Linked DNA regions of Homo sapiens: region 2 is linked to region 1. The links are contacts of gene promoters, found by promoter capture Hi-C in human tissues and cell types (Jung and others, 2019). All regions are on one chromosome and are shown on one strand. Each heading gives the region's core, a stretch centred on a gene start or on the middle of the fragment in contact. The rest is flanking DNA. Distances are from core to core; before and after follow the strand shown.

What was found. Contacts are between HindIII fragments. The study calls those that stand out against the background at their distance.
Region 2: a fragment that was not itself captured here is called in contact with the fragment with the promoter of ATP13A5 in region 1 in 2 of the 25 tissues and cell types used here (aorta and stomach).

The regions. Positions count from the first base shown.
Region 1 is chr3:193,375,954-193,380,898 of GRCh38, forward strand. It overlaps ATP13A5 (ATPase 13A5), which reads right to left and starts at 2,800. Exons shown (of 30, transcript NM_198505.4): 1 at 2,710-2,800. The coding sequence starts at 2,772. The HindIII fragment of the contact is 10,323 bases long and covers 1-4,945 here.
Region 2 is chr3:193,178,207-193,183,151 of GRCh38, forward strand. No RefSeq gene overlaps it. Among named protein-coding and RNA genes, the nearest start is that of PLAAT1, 61 kb to the right of the region's middle. The HindIII fragment of the contact is 3,807 bases long and covers 234-4,040 here.

The sequences.
Region 1 (4,945 bases), core at 1,550-4,049:
AACGGATTGTTCACTTGAAATAATGAATGCGAGTAGAAGTTAGACCGGGCCACAGGGAATCTTCGGGGAAGGAAGAGCAAGTGGGGCGAGGCTGTCAACATCAGAGAGCGACAGCCCCCAAGGCTGGGACTAAACCATGCCCAGGTTTACTTTGACCTACTGATTGTTTTCAAAAGATGAATTTGTTTTCAAAATTTATCATCAGGCTACATCACATAAAAAGTCAGATTTCTGGCTTCCCTCGATTTATTTATTTTTTACCTTTTAGATTTAAAAACATCTATTTCTAGAGTCTGGGAAGTCCAAGATCAAGGTGCTGGCAGATCCAGTGTCTGATGAGGACCCTCCTTCTGGTGCATAGACTGCCATCTTTTCTCTGTGCCCTCACATGGTAGAAGGGACAAGGGAGATCTCTAGGTTCTCTTTTCTTTTATTTATAAGAAAAACAGGCTTTTGCTATGTTAACCAGACTGGTCTTGAACTTCTGGCCTCAAGAGATCTTCCCACCTTAGCCTCCCAAAGTGCTGGGATTACAGGCATGAGCCACCATGCCTGGCCAGGGGTCTCTTTTCTTTTTTTAATTTCCAACTTTTATTTTAAGTTCAGGGGTACATGCGCAGGATGTGCAGGTTTGATACTTAGGTAAAAGTGTGCCATAGTGGTTTGCCACACAGATTGACCCATCACCTAGGTGTTAAGCCCAGCATCCATTAGCTATTCTTCCTGATGCTCTCCCTTCTCCCATCTCCCACCTTCTGATAGGCCCCAGTATGTGTTGTTCCCCATCCGGCTTCCTTCTAAAAGGCTAGCAATTGCAAGATCAGTTCAGCAATTGCCTGGAGCTAAGTCACAGCTTCCACAGTTCGGTCACCCCAGCTCCCTCAGGCCTAGCGGAGTCTGTGGATTACCTGATCAACCAGAATAGGATTTGCATCTGTGCTCTACGCCCCAGAATTCTGAAAAAGAAATCTAGAGCCATCTCCCCTTCCCCACAATGAGTTAAGCTTACTTGGATTCCTAATAGACATTTCTGGTGAGTGTCTGTAAAAGGGTTTGATCACCTGCAAAAATGAAGAAAACTGGGGCACCTGGCTCATTATTTAATCCTATGATACCAATGTCCTGTTTGTGAGTGAGAGAATTAAAGTATCAGGCTATAAACTTTACAAATAAAGCAACTAGTTAGAGAAGAATAAAGAGCAATGTAATTTTTCATGCACTCTTATCTACATGTTGAAAACATCAGAGCTAACAGAATTGTTCAGCAGTGAACACAGGTGAATAGATTTTCATTCTTTAAAAGCTTTAATTCTGAAGATTTTAAAGTGCTGTGCTATTGTCAAGCTTAGCGTGCTACAATAATGCAAGCCACAAATATGAGCTGCCTTCTTAATATTAACGTTCCTAGCAGCCACATTAAAGATGTAAAGAGAAGCAGGTGAAATTTTTACCTAAGCTATCTAAAATATTGTCATTTCAATGTGTAAACAATATAAAAATTATTAATAAGATGTTTTACTTTTTTTTACTAAATTCTTCAAAATCTGGTGCGTATTTTACACATAAAGCATATTTTGTGTGGACTAGCTACTTTTCTAGTGCTCAGAAACTACACGTGGCCCATGGCTGCCTTATTGAACAACATAGATGTAGATGAAATCATATGTTTTCCTTAGAGTAGCAAACAGGGATAGGTGGAGGGAGAGCCGGTATGGATTTGCCCCAGATCTCACAGGGAACCAGGATGCCAGCCAGGAAACTGACATCATTCTAATCTACAAACCATGTTCTCCAAGTTCTTTGGGGCCCCCAAATGTGCCCTCACTCTGACCCTTCCCCTGTCTGTCTCTGTCTCCTTTCTTCATTGTCTAGCTGGAGCCACTGTTGTATGGTGAACAGCACAGGATGTGGAGAAGGAGTCGGCTGGATTCCCAGCCTGTCCCTTGCAGGCTAATGACCTTGGGCAAGTTATTTAACCTCCCTGGTCTCAGATTTCTTTTCAATTAAATAGGATTAGTTCTTTCATCACTGAGGTCTGAGGATTATATAAAATCATAAATATAAACACCTCAGCACCAAATAAACACTATAGTTTTCAACTTTTTAATTATTATTTTTAAATGTGTGTGTGTGTGTGTGTGTGTGTTTGATGAAAACAAGAGTGGGGAAAAAATTGGAGACATGAGAAATGTTTAAAATATGTGTTAAAAATCCCAGGCCACATTCTACTCCTTCTTTAGTAATTGATGCTTAAAACTTCTCTCTGCGCTTATAAAAAGCATGACTTCAGCCCAGAGCCCCCTAAGCCTAGGTTATGCATACATACCCAAAGCACGAGAATAAAAAAGAGTTCTTGTTTTCAATAGAGTTTGTTCCATCACATAGCAATCCAGATAATAAGGGGGAGACACCCCACTGAGCACCATGCGGGGCTCTGCAAATACTGTAAATGTGCGAGGAAACATCACAGGTTCATATGAAGATGGCAAGAATTCTATCATCCAGAGGTCACAAGTTTCTCAGCCCCTGCAGGTTTCCCCACAATAAAATGGTGCTTTGCAGCCCTTAAGGAACCTTACCAGACTGAAACCTTTCAAGGTCCTAAAGCCTGAAGCATAAATGCTACACTCTATTTTCTAATTCAGCTGTAGCCCATACTCACCGCCTTGGGCTCTTTGAGAAGACTAATAAAATAAAGGGAAGACTCACCAGTTCATCCTCCTCTCCCTGGTTGAGCAAAGCCCGATGGTCCTTCTTACTGTTCTCTTCCATCTGAACTCAACCGGCGAGGATCTCTTCTGGCTAACTCCTTGGAGAAATGTCAAAATCCCTTGGGCTTCTGTGAACTTGGAATCGTCACAACTTGTGATTGCTCTTCCCAGGCGCTTTTAAAATCTCTTAGTACACACCTTGCCTATTAGACTAACAAAGGAAAGAGAGAAAATCTTCTCAGGAACAGGATTGGTCTGTTAATCTGGTTATTGTGGGTTTTTTTCCTAGTGTTTGTTTATTGAGCTAGATATGAGTGCCTCAAGACCTGAGGAATGACGGGGGAAGAAGTTGGCAAACTAGAAGGAGAAATCATTTTGTATGCGATCCATAAATGTCTCAGCCAAGGAATGAGAATAGTCACTTTGCTAAAAACCTAAGATAAAAGGATTAGCCAGTGAGAGATGTATAAAAACCCTGCAGACTTTGAAAAAGTAATGAACATATTGGGGGTGACAATGAGAATTGAAGGAAGGGAGGTAGGCTCATGATAGAGAATGTAGGAATCATTTTGGAATTAGAAAAATCTGAGTTCTAATCCGTGCTTCACTGAAGACCCTGGACAAATCACTTAAAATCTGGAATTTCAGTTTCTAGTACATAAAATGTCAATAATAACTATACAGTAATATAAAGATTTAAGATGATAGTCATAAAAAGCCAACGATAGCACCCACCACAGTCACTAAGAGAGAAATAATCATCATCATAATCATTACACTAACCAAGAAGAAAGAGGCTTTAAAAAGTAAACTATATTAATAACTTGATTCTTTTCATTTTCTCTTTAGAGTTTACAAAAGTTTTCAAATGAGCAAAGTATGTGGAGGGAAGAGATGCTAGAAAGTCCGAGGATTAAGGATATAGCCCAAATTTCAACACCACTGAATTTGATATTTTGATTAGAAAATAGGTATACTGTGATCCATTCCAGAGTCAGTTAATTTGTTTGTGATGAAAACTTTTGTCATTTTATTGGCTCTTATTGTATCCTTGCACTTTGACTATGGAAGAAAATTTGCTGGGAATGAAAACTATTAGGGATGATACTTGGCTGTTTCTGCTGACTGAAATAGACACTGATTGCCTTGAGCAGGCATAAGTGTCCAACTTGGTGTTCAGGAGAGATCAACGTGCTCTCTGGCCAGGAGAAAGTGGCTGATGAGAATAAACAGGAAGACAACTAGAGCTCTTCATGCCAGAGGCTCCCGAGGTACCCATACTGAAGTATAATGTGCCGGTGTGAATGTTGCCTTGTAAGTAGTACCAATCTAAGGTAAAATGCATATTTGAAGAAAGGAGTTCTGGATTTTAGTAAAACTTCATTAAAGACACGAGTGGTGGCTATCATTCACTTCTTACCCATCCGCTATTTACTTGTATTTCTTGCTGAAAGAACCCCAACTTTGTGCAGCATGACTTCAGCTAAAAGCACCAAGATGAGTCAATGATTTGTCTATGGGTCGGCGTGTGGCCCAGTTCTAAACAATGAAATAGAAGAGAAAGACATGGTCTTGTGGGAAAGGTTATCTTGTTGATGAAACAGAGAGAAGAACATTTTTTTCTGTCTTCCCCTTTCTGCCTTTCTTTGAAAGTGATCCATGAAAATGCAATGCTTGGAGCATGGTAGCCATCTTTAGGTGGTGAGGAGGATGCAAATCACCATGAAAATTACGGTGAGAAAAGGACAAAAGAAGTTATATGCCTATAACACCACTGATTCATGGACCTACCTACCCCTAAACACCACATTAAATACACAATTAAACATTCTCATAAAGCCACTCTTGCTTGGGTTTTCTGTTACATATAGTCCAAAGATATACATAGCACTGGTCTTGACTCCATTCCACTTTTACTCAACAATTATGTACTGGAAAACAGATGTTCCAGACATTGTGCTAGGCCCTCGAATACAATGGTGTAAAGGAAAGAGCCCCTATCCTGAGAGAGTTTATAGTTACTTGGGAATGACAGATAACTAAGCAGCCTCTTAATTGGGAAATATACTAAACTCAGATTTAATGGAATACAAACAGGTTCCCAAAGGAAGTGACATTTATTCTGACATCTCAAAGATAAGCAGAAGTTAACAGATAGAAAGAATGGGGGATAGTGGCATCTGGTGAGCACAGTCTAGGCTGGGAGCAGAAGGTGTGGAAAGGGTCAAGCGAGG
Region 2 (4,945 bases), core at 887-3,386, 200 kb before region 1:
AGATTGCTTTAATTCCTGACTTCTTCTTCTTCTTTTCAGCCCTGAGACCTCCAGGCTGTTATGTTTGCTGGAACTTCCAACTGATCACTGTACCCCTGCATCTTTGCATGGCAGGTTCCTTCTCATTCTTCAGGCGTTAGCTTAAATACCCCTTTCTGGTAGAGGCCGCCCCTGACTACTCTACTATAAGCAGGCACCCCTTGTTATTTTGTAGCAATAGCCTCTGCTGTCTCCTTTTCAGTACTCATCACAAAATGTAATCACATTTATTTGTTTATTGGCTGCCTATTCCACCAGTAGATAAACTCCCTGAGGTCAGGGCCCTGTCTGTTTTGTTTACCATTGTAATTCCAACACCTACTTTGACCCCTTTCCTTATTCCATAAGTCTTAGTCAATCCATTAGCGAATCCTATTGACTTTATCATCCAACTATATCCAGAATCAGGTCACTTCCCAGCTCTTCCATCCTGCTACCCTGGTCCAAGGCCTGAACCTTCCATAGACCCTATCTATTAAAGGGTTTTCTGAAAGAAAACTCTGCCTTCCATTGCCCGTTAGTTACTATCTACACTCAACAACCAGAATAAGCCTTTCAAGATATAAATGAAAAAATATTCCGTTCCTCTGCTTACAATGTCCAGTGGCTTCTAATCATAGAGCCTTGCATGATTTACTTCCCAATTCCTTCTCTACTTTAGCCATAATGATCACTTTGCTGTTCTTCAGCACATTAAGCATATTCAAGGTCATAGCACTTGCTGTTACCTCTAACTGGAATACTATTGCTAATGACTCAGTTCCTCACTTCACTCAGGCCTCAGTTTAAATGTCATCTTATTGGAAAGTGTTTCCTCGACCAGTATCTATAAAATAGCAGCCTCCACCTGCCAATCTTTTTCTCTGTACATCATAATGCAATTTATTTTCTTTTGAGTGCTTATTAACAACCAATGTGTTCTGTATGTTTTTATTTATACCTTTCTTCTCCCACTGTCATGTAAATTTTCTCACCACAGGGATTTAGTCTTTTCTTTTTATTACCGTATCCTCTATGTCAAGGACTGGACCTGATACACTTAACAGCTGGGTGCTCCATATAAGTTTGCTAAATGAATTTTAAAATGAGCTAATGAATAAATCGCATAGAAATCATGCTTTTAAAAAAGTAATCTATGGGCTTCCATTCCAAGATGGCTGAGTAGGAACAGCTCCGGTCTTCAGCTCCCAGTGTGATCAATGCAGAAGACAGGTGATTTCTGTGGTTACAACTGAGGTATCTGGCTCATCTCATTGTGACTGGTCGGACAGTGAGTGCAGCCCATGGAGGGTGAGCTGAAGCAGAGTGGGGCATTGCCTCACCCGAGAAGTGCAAGGGATCAGGGGATTTCCCTTTCCTAGACAAGGGAAGCCATGACAGACTGTACTGGGAAAAACGGGACACTCCAGCCCAAATACTGTGCTTTTCCCAAGGTCTTAGCAACCAGCAGACAAGGAGATTCTCTCCAGTGCCTGACTCCGCAGGTCCCATGCCCACAGAGCCTTGCTCACTGCTAGTGCAGCAGTCTGAGATTGAACTGTGTGGCAGCAGCCTGGCTGGGGGAGGGGCATCTGCCATTACTGAGGCTTGAATAGGTAAACAAAGCAGCCAGGAAGCTCGAACTGGGTGGAGCCCACTGCAGCTCAGCAAGGCCTACTGCCTCTGTAGACTCCACCTCTGTGGGCAGGGCATAGCTGAACAAAAGGCAGTAGACAACTTCTGCAGACTTAGACATCCCCGTCTGACAGCTCTGAAGAGAGCAGTGGTTCTCCCAGCATGGCGTTTGAGCTCTGAGAACAGACAGACTGCCTCCTCACATGGGCGCTTGACCCCTGTGTAGCCTAACTGGGAGACACCTCCCAGTAGGGGCTGACAGACACCTCATACAGGTGGGTGCTCCTCTGGGACAAAGCTTCCAGAGGAAGGATCAGGCAGCAATATTTACTGCTCTGCAATATTTGCTGTTCTGCAACCTCTGCTGGTGATACCCAGGGAAACACGGTCTGGAGTGGACCTCCAGCAAACTCTAACAGACCTGCAGCTGAGGGCCTTGACTGCTAGAAGGAAAACCAACAAGCAGAAAGGAATAGCATCGACATCAACAAAAAGGACATCTACACCAAAACCCCATCTGTAGGTCTGTAGGTCACCAGCATCAAAGACCAAAGGTAGATAAAACCACAAAGATGGGGAAAAACCAGAGCAGAAAAGCTGAAAATTCTAAAAATCAGAGTGCCTCTTCTCCTCTAAAGGATTGCAGCTCCTTGCCAGCAACGGAACACAGCTGGATGGAGAATGACTTTGACGAGTTGACAGAAGTAGGCTTCAGAAGATCGGTAATAACAAACTTCTCTGAGGTAAAGAAGCACGTTCTAACCCATCACAAGGAAGTTAAAAACCTTGAAAAAAGGTTAGACGAATGGCTAACTAGAATAAACAGTGTAGAGAAGATCTTAAATGACCTGATGGAGCTGAAAACCATGGCACAAGAACGTTGTGACACATGCACAAGCTTCAATAGCCAATTCGATCAAGTGGAAGAAAGGGTATCAGTGATTGAAAATCAAATTAATGGAATAAAGCGAGAGACAAGTTTAGAGAAAAAAGTGTAAAAAGAAATGAACAAAGCCTCCAAGAAATATAGGATGACGTGAAAAGACCAAATCTATGTTTGATTGGTGTAACTGAAAGTGATGGGGAGAATGGAACCAAGTTGGAAAACACTCTTCAGGATATTATCCAGGAGAACTTCCCCAACCTAGCAAGGCAGGCCAACATTCAAATTCAGGAAATACAGAGAATACCACAAAGATATTCCTTGAGAAGAGCAATTCCAAGACACATAATTGTCAGATTCACCAAGGTTGAAATGAAGGAAAAAATGTTAAGGGCAGCTAGAGAGAAAGGTCAGGTTACCCACAAAGGGAAGCCCATCGGACTAACAGCAGATCTCTCAGCAGAAACCTTACAAGCCAGAAGAGAGTGGGGACCAATATTCAACATTCTTAAGGAAAAGAATTTTTAACCCAGAATTTCATACCCAGCCAAACGAAGCTTCATAAGTGAAGGAGAAATAAAATCCTTTACAGACAAGCAAATGCTGAGAGATTTTGTCACCACCAGGCCTGCCTTATAAGAGCTCCTGAAGGAAGCACTAAACATGGAAAGGAACAACCAGTATCAGCCACTGCAAAAACATGCCAAATTGTAAACACCAACGATGCTAGGAAGAAACTGCATCAACTAACGGGCAAGATAGCTAGCTAACATCATAATGAAGGGATCATATTCACACATAACAATATTAACCTTAAATGTAAATGGGCTAAATGCCCCAATTAAAAGACACAGACTGGCAAATTGGATAAAGAGTCAAGACGCATCAGTGTGCTGTATTCAGGAGACCCATCTCACGTGCAGAGACACACATAGGCTCAAAATAAAGGGATGGAGGAAGATCTACCAAGCAAATGGAAAGCAAGAAAAAAAAAGCAGGGGTTGCAATCCTAGTCTCTGATAAAACAGACTTTAAACCAACAAAGATCAAAAGAGACGAAGAAGACCATTACATAATGGTATAGGGATCAAATTCAACAAGAAGAGCTAACTATCCTAAACATATATGCACCCAATACAGGAGCATCCAGATTTATAAAGCAAGTCCTCAGAGACCTACAAAGAGACTTAGACTCCCACACAATAATAATGGGAGACTTTAGCACCCCACTGTCAATATTAGACAGATCAATGAGTCAGAAAGTTAACAAGGATATCCAGGACTTGAACTCAGCTCTGCACCAAGCAGACCTAATAGACATCTACAGAACTCTCCATCCCAAATCAACAGAATGTACATTCTTCTCAGCACAACATCACACTTGTTTTAAAATTGAGCACATAATTGGAAGTAAAGCACTCCTCAGCAAATGTAAAAGAACTGAAACCACAACAAACTGTCTTTCGGACCACAGTGCAATCAAATTAGAATTCAGGATTAAGAAATTCACTCAAAACCACAGAACTACATGGAAACTGAACAACCTGCTCCTGAATGACTACTGGGTAAATAACGAAATGAAGCCAGAAATAAAGATGTTCTTTGAAACCAGTGAGAACAAAGACACAACATACCAGAATCTCTGGGACACATTTAAAGCAGTGTGTAGAGGGAAATTTATAGCACCATAAATGCCCACAAGAGAAAGCAGGAAAGATCTAAAATTGACACCCTAACATCACAATTAAAAGAACTAGATAAGCAAGAGCAAACAAATTCAAAAGCTAGCAGAAGGCAAGAAATAACTAAGATCAGAGCAGAACTCAAGGAGACAGAGACACAAAAAACCCTTCAAAAAATCAATGAATCCAGGAGCTGTTTTTTTTGAAAAGATCAACAAAATTGATAGACCACTAGCAAGACTAAAGAAGAAAAGAGAGAAAAATCAAATAGATGCAATAAAAAATGATAAAGGGGATATCACTACTGATCCCACAGAAATACAAACTACCATCAGAGAATACTATAAACAGGTCCATACAAATAAACTAGAAAATCTGGAAGAAATGGATAAATTCCTGGACACATACACCCTCCCAAGAACAAACCAGGAAGAAGTTGAATCTCTGAATAGACCAATAACAGGCTCTGAAATTGAGGCAATAATTAATAGCCTAACAACCAAAAAAAGTCCAGGACCAGACAGATTCACAGCCGAATCTACCAGAGGTACAAACAGCAGCTGGTACTATTCCTTCTGAAACTATTCCAATCTATAGAAAAAGAGAGAATCCTCCCTAACTCATTTTATGAGGCCAACATCATCCTGATACCAAAGCCTGGCAGAGACACAACAAAAAAAGAGAAGTTTAGACCAATATCCACGGTGAACATCAATGCAAAAATCCT